Regions from separate parts of the Homo sapiens genome. Here region 2 is linked to region 1. The links are contacts of gene promoters, found by promoter capture Hi-C in blood cells and fetal thymus (Javierre and others, 2016). All regions are on one chromosome and are shown on one strand. Each heading gives the region's core, a stretch centred on a gene start or on the middle of the fragment in contact. The rest is flanking DNA. Distances are from core to core; before and after follow the strand shown. Region 1 holds the start of RXYLT1 (ribitol xylosyltransferase 1). Region 2 holds the start of HELB (DNA helicase B).

The links. The method cuts DNA at HindIII sites, captures the fragments that hold promoters and counts their contacts. A CHiCAGO score of 5 or more calls a contact.
Region 2: a contact is called between a fragment that was not itself captured here and the fragment with the promoter of RXYLT1 in region 1, in 2 of 17 cell types (total CD4 T cells and total B cells). The highest score is 7.0, in total CD4 T cells.

Annotation. Positions count from the first base shown.
Region 1 is chr12:63,778,266-63,781,453 of GRCh38, forward strand. RXYLT1 (ribitol xylosyltransferase 1) reads left to right here and starts at 1,644. Exons shown (of 6, transcript NM_014254.3): 1 at 1,644-1,864; 2 at 2,754-2,909. The coding sequence starts at 1,696. RefSeq lists silencers at 1,463-1,692, 1,709-1,984, 1,713-2,012. The HindIII fragment of the contact is 1,854 bases long and covers 598-2,451 here.
Region 2 is chr12:66,302,352-66,305,846 of GRCh38, forward strand. HELB (DNA helicase B) reads left to right here and starts at 142. Exons shown (of 13, transcript NM_001370285.1): 1 at 142-439; 2 at 2,380-2,799. The coding sequence starts at 253. RefSeq lists enhancers at 212-261, 322-401, 1,033-1,132, 1,163-1,472. The HindIII fragment of the contact is 1,108 bases long and covers 697-1,804 here.

The DNA of each region.
Region 1 (3,188 bases), core at 394-2,893:
TTCAACCCCCAGAGGATATTTAACCTTGTCTCCCCCTCCACACTGCTGCATTCCCCACCACATCTCTTTCCCTCTCTTTCCATCCACCTGAAGAGATGAGAGCATATACAGAAAGTAGCTCCCAGCTGTAGCTCAACCATTAAACACCAAGAGAAAGGAAAATGAACTCTGCCAGACTTAGATCAATTAGAAGATTCCTTTGTAACCTAAATACATTTTTAAAAGCTTATCATCAAATTATGCAGTCATTTGCAGTTTGAGGTAAAACAACTCCTTCATTTTCATGGCCCTCTCCCCTATTCAAGATGACATCAACTGCATATTAGTTTTACCTTGTATGCATTTCTCAATAGTAAAACCATTAGTCAGTAGCATCTGAATGTACATTGATACAGTGGGTGTTTTGTGGTAATTATAAGGTAATTACTTCCTATCCTTAAATAATTGTCATTTCCACAAACAAACAAAATAGGATAAACAACAATACAGCATACATAAAACAACTGCCATCTCCCTAAGACACCAGAATAGCCTGTTAATCAAGGAAAGCTAAATTTATTAAATCTACTACAGTAAGGGAGGCCACACTTTGACAGAAGCTTGGCAGTCTCAGAAGGAGAAGGTTGGGGGTGATATTTATAGGATTTGGGGAGTCTGAGCAAAAATGGTTTAAAACAGGTCTTTTGAGGCAGGGAACTGTTTGGGGGATTGGGTAAAGTGTTTGACCTAATAGTTTAGGGTCGGTGCTAGAGTGACCAATTTTACTGATTTCCTAGGACTTTCTCAATTTTAGCACTAAAAATCCTCCAACTGGAGAATCCTTACAGTCCTGGGCAAACTGGGACCATTGGTCACCCTAATTAGCAGACATACCGTCGCAAGACTGCTGGGTAATTTGAACAGTAGTACCAGAGCAACTGACAAAACATTGTAGCCCATCTTCCCAAGGCTGGATACAAAGTTTTCTGAAGCATTCACATTTACAGCCTCTATTTGACAAAATACTGCATGCCTATGTGCGTTCAACTCACATAATAATGAAACTTAACTTTAAAAATGTTTTTATTGCAGTAAGGTATATAAAACATGAATTCGACAGTTTAACTATTTCTATGCATACAAGTGAGTGGTATTAATTACATTCACAATGTTAAGCGACCATCATCACTTAATTTTTTTAAAGGACGTTTATATTCACTCATCTATCAACGTAGTAGGCACTGTCCTAGGCGCTAGGGATTCCATGCAGAGCAAAAAACGTCACAGTCCATGCCTTCACATGGCCTTCATGGACCACCGCGGGTGTTCTTTTTCCCCCGAGTCTTTATGTACTTGGGAAAAGTGGCCAGGGTTGAAAGGTGCAATGAGTACACGGCAGAGGTCAGAGAGGTTCCCACTCAGCCCGGCGTCTGGAAGCAGCGTGGGGTAGGGGCCGCTCCAGTACCCCCTCCTCCAGTGTCGAAGGTGGGCAGGCCCTCGGCCGGGTGGATGAGCCGCGACTGGAGGGGGCGGGGCCTGGGCGGGAGGCGGGCGGTGGGCGTGTCCGGGGCGGGGCTGTACCGGGCGCTGGGCGGAGGAGCCTTGGCTGGGGACTGCCTGGAAACGGGCTGGGCCTGCCTCGGACGCCGCCGGTGTCGCGGATTCTCTTTCCGCCCGCTCCATGGCGGTGGATGCCTGACTGGAAGCCCGAGTGGGATGCGGCTGACGCGGAAGCGGCTCTGCTCGTTTCTTATCGCCCTGTACTGCCTATTCTCCCTCTACGCTGCCTACCACGTCTTCTTCGGGCGCCGCCGCCAGGCGCCGGCCGGGTCCCCGCGGGGCCTCAGGAAGGGGGCGGCCCCCGCGCGGGAGAGACGCGGCCGAGGTAGGACTGGGTCGGCGGCTTCCTTCCGGCTCTGCGCTCCTGGCTGGGGCTGCTGGGCGGCTGGGGCCGGGTCCCCGCACCCGGCTCTCAAGTCCGGGATTACCCGCAGGGCCTGAGAAGCGCTTTGCCCCCTACAGCCTCTCGAGCCAGCCCTTGGCTCGGAATTGGAGAATGGTCCTCATTCTTACCCAGATCTCACACGCCGTCCCCGCTCCCGATCCCAGGGGGTGACAGGCGCGCACGCCTTTCAAACACGTGTTAAAATCCAAGACGTCGTCTCAAATGCCAGAGATTTGCGGGAATGCTCCTGGAAGGCCTCAAAATCGCCGCAAGGTTTAAGACATCCGTTTCCATGTTGAAACAAAGCCCTCTCTAATCCTGCAGTGACCATAAGGCAGACTTTACCTCCAAATTCTGGTCCCCTGTCCTGTGTTTTAACTTGTGTTAAGATCAGACTCGGCTTTCTCTTTCCCTTTATTCAGAATTTTGCACGATAGTATCTAAGACTGGTGAACACTACACTCTGAAGTCAGTTTTTTGTGCATAGGTTACCTGTATACAATGGATAAAAATAATTGCAAAAGTTAAGCTTGTAACTTGATACATATTATCCTGTTATTTTTAAAGGTTTTGTGTTGGGGAAGAGAATTTTCCTGTCTCAAGGTAGCATTTTATTTCTAAGACTTTTCAGAGTAAAAAAAGTTCAGTAAAAAAATTGCTGATTTTCTTTTTTGTTTTCATTGTGTATTACCAGTTTAAATTCAGTTGCTGTACCTCTCAGAAATTAAAGTTAGGATGAAATTAGAACTAACACTTAATTTAAATGATTTGAATTTACCTACAACTGCAATAATACCTTACTGGTAAACACTTACTCTTTTTAAAACAGAACAGTCCACTTTGGAAAGTGAAGAATGGAATCCTTGGGAAGGAGATGAAAAAAATGAGCAACAACACAGATTTAAAACTAGCCTTCAAATATTAGATAAATCCACGAAAGGAAAAACAGATCTCAGTGTACAAATCTGGGGCAAAGCTGCCATTGGTAAGTTAATACGTAGAAGGAAGACATGTAAAAAGCATTATAAAATGTATTTTATTGATATGAAATTCATTTTAATATAATTTATTTCATAATTTGTTAATTAAGGCATCATGATATATTTTTTCGCTTTTTGTCAATAATTCCTTTCTCCTTCCAATTAGACAACATCTGTTTGTAAATGTACACACATACATATTCCACTGTTGGTCTTTAGCAGAGCACAGCTTCATTTATTGATACATTGAGTAGGCTGTATAGTGTCATTAGATTGCAATGCAT
Region 2 (3,495 bases), core at 1-2,500, 2.5 Mb after region 1:
ATCTCCCAGCCCCTCGCTCTCCCTTCCCCGCCCCTAACCCGCCTTGCCCCGCCCCTTCCACATGCCCTCCCCTCGGCAATTCCTGGAAACTTGGGGCGGAGCTTCGCTGCCTTTCAGGTTTTATGTACGCTGGCGGCCGCCAGGCCGTTCCCGGAAGTTGATGGCCTTACAGTCGTAGAACTGATTGGCTGATCATGACCATGCAGTTAGCCAGGGTTTTCCCGAGTTGTTTGGGTTGAGTTCAGGAGAAGCATGGCCAGGTCGAGTCCGTACCTGCGCCAACTTCAGGGACCTCTGCTCCCACCCAGGGATCTGGTGGAGGAGGACGACGACTACCTAAACGACGACGTGGAGGAGGATGAAGAGTCCGTGTTCATCGACGCCGAGGAGCTCTGCAGTGGGGGCGTAAAGGCTGGCAGCCTCCCCGGGTGCCTCCGCGGTGAGGAAGGCGTCTGCCCGGGGGATGGGGTTGGAGGGTCCAAAGTAGCGCTTCCCATTCTGGCTTTGCCCTGAGCAAGGCACCCAGTCGTGCTAACAGATTTAGCTTATCAGTGGTCTAGCTGCTTCATCCTACCAAGGGTAAAATTATGACTATAATAATAGCAGTGACTTTAACTGGACACATACTATGTGGTTTTTTTTTTTTTTTCTTTTTTTGAGCAGCAGCAAGATTTATTGCAAAGAGCGAAAGAACAAAGCTTCTACAGTGTGGAAGGGGACCCGAGCGGGTTGCCCTTTTTTTTTTTTTTTTTTTTTAAAATTATTCTCATTTTAATGGTCGTCCTTTAATTTAATGTACCTTTAATGTAAGGTAGTTTTACGCTTAAGGAAACAGTGGATGTTGAGTCTCTATTTCCACCCAGAATCGGAACTTTTATTTTTCCTTCTGACCACTTATCCTCAAGTTCTATAGAATGAGAACTTGTAATTATTATCCTATATTGCCTGGAGTCAAATACGTGGTTCTTCCTCAGCTTCTTGGAAAAACAAAACAGTCCGGGCGCGGTGGCTCACGCACTTTGGGAGGCCGAGGCAGGTGGATCACTTGAGGTCAGGAGTTCGAGACCAGCCTGACCAACATGGTGAAACCTGTCTCTAGTAAAACAACAACAACAACAACAAAACTACAAAATTAGCCGGGCGTGATGTCGCACACCTGTAATCCTAGCTACTTGGGAGGCCGAGGCAGGAGAATTGCTTGAACCCAGGAGGTGGGGGTTGCAGTGAGCTGAGATCACACCATTGCACTCCGGCCTGGGCAACAAGAATGAAACTCCATCTCAAAAAACGAAAAGGAAAGAAAAGAAAAAGAAAAACGAAACACAAGGAACACCTCAGTGCACAGATGATTGTTAATTGGTGTTAGTAACCTTGTGGTTCGGGTAAACCTTGTATAAGTAGTTTCCTGTGCTATGAGGTAGTTTCCTGTGCTATAAGTTATACCTGTTATGTATACTTTGTGACTGAGACTTAAAATATTTTAATGTGCCGACCGGTGCTGTTCAGTAGAACTTTCCATGATCATGGCAGTGTTTTATATCTGCACTGTCTGGTATAATAGCCACTAGCCATATGTAGCTGTTTAGAACTTGAAATCCAGCTAGTGTAACTGAGGAGAGAAATTTTAAGTTTTATTACATTTTAATTTAAATAGCCACGTGGGTGGACAGCGCAGATTTAGGCAGAAAAGTTTCAAGTATTTGTGGAGGGCTTAGTCGTCATTCTAAAGTATCATCAACTGGCTAGCATGTTTGGTGCTGGGAAAACCTAGAGAAATAAAATAACAAGGTTGCAGTCTTAATGAAGCTTACCCTCTAGTGTATTAAACAAACATTCTTTAATCACAGAAGTAACTATAATGTTACTAAATGCTTAGAAGGAATGCTAAATAGTGCTTTGAGAGGTTTTATACATGAGATTCAGGGAAGACTTTTCTAAGTAAGTGATAGTTAAGCTGAGGTCTGTAGTAAATGTAGTAAACAGTAAAGGGGAGATCAGTTAAGGCAGATGGAATAACTTGAGTGAAGGGCCATGGCATTTTAAAGAAACTGCATGAAGGCCAGTATTGGCTGAAGTCAAGAGTAGCAGAGAGGGGACTGATTTTAGAAGAGGAACAGCAGACACCTGCTGTGTACTGTGCTTGCGTTTTGGAATACAAAGACAAACGAAACAGTGTCCTGTTTTAGTATTTACAGTGTAGTGGAGGGAGACAGAAAAAGAGGTAGGCAGAATGCAGTGTTACAGGCACCCTACCAGACATCTTTAGAGAGTGCTGTAGGGAGATTAAAGATAGTGGTAAGTTTGATGAAACTTTGAGGAAACGGTTTCTAAATAATCTCCAGAGTTAACTTTTGTGGGTTTTTGTTTGTTTTTTTTTAGTTTCTATTTGTGATGAAAACACACAAGAGACATGTAAAGTGTTTGGACGTTTTCCGATAACAGGTGCTTGGTGGAGAGTGAAGGTACAAGTAAAGCCTGTGGTGGGATCAAGGAGCTATCAATATCAAGTTCAAGGATTTCCGTCTTACTTTTTGCAGTCTGATATGTCACCACCAAATCAAAAACATATCTGTGCTCTCTTTCTTAAAGAGTGTGAGGTCTCCAGTGATGATGTTAATAAATTTTTAACATGGGTAAAGGAGGTATCAAACTACAAAAACCTAAACTTTGAAAATCTTAGGGAAACACTAAGAACTTTCCACAAGGAAACTGGAAGGAAAGATCAAAAGCAGCCTACACAGAATGGTCAGGAAGAGTTGTTCCTAGACAATGAGATGAGTCTTCCTCTGGAAAACACAAGTAAGTGTGATTTTTATCATCAACTTTCAGTGTAATTGACATACTTAATAACTACAGTGTTTAAAATGTTACCACTAGCATAGTATTCTTTTTAAAAATCCATTTGGTGAAAAATGTGTTTATGTTGCTTTTGGAGTATGCCATTGACATTTCAGGTTTCTCATCTGTAGCATGAAGGGATTATATGAGCTGATCTTTAAAATCTTCCAGTTCCTTTCCACCTCTAAAACTGTGATTTTAATCTCTCTTTCTAACTTTTGTATTCACAGCGATTACCTTGAATCATTAATAAAAAAAAATTCAGTTGCTGGCCAGGTGTGGTAGCTGCTCACGTCTGTAATCCCACTTTGGGAGACTGAGGCAGGAGGATCACTTGAGCGCAGGAGATCGAGACTAGCCTGAGCAATGTAGTGAGACCTTGTCTCTACAAAAAATTTTTTAAAAATTAGCCAGGTGTGGTGATATATACCTGTAGTCCCAGCTACTTGGGAGGATGAGGCAGGAGGATCACTTGAGCCTAGGAAATGGAGGCTGCAGTGAGCCATGATTGCACCACTGTACTCCAGCCTAGGTGAGAGTGAGACACCGTCTCAGTTAAAAAAAAAAAAAAATCAGTTGTAAATGATTCTGTTTAAAGAGGTAGAGAAGAACGACAAGGATGTGAATAATACATTTAGGAAATACTTCAGTCCAAAA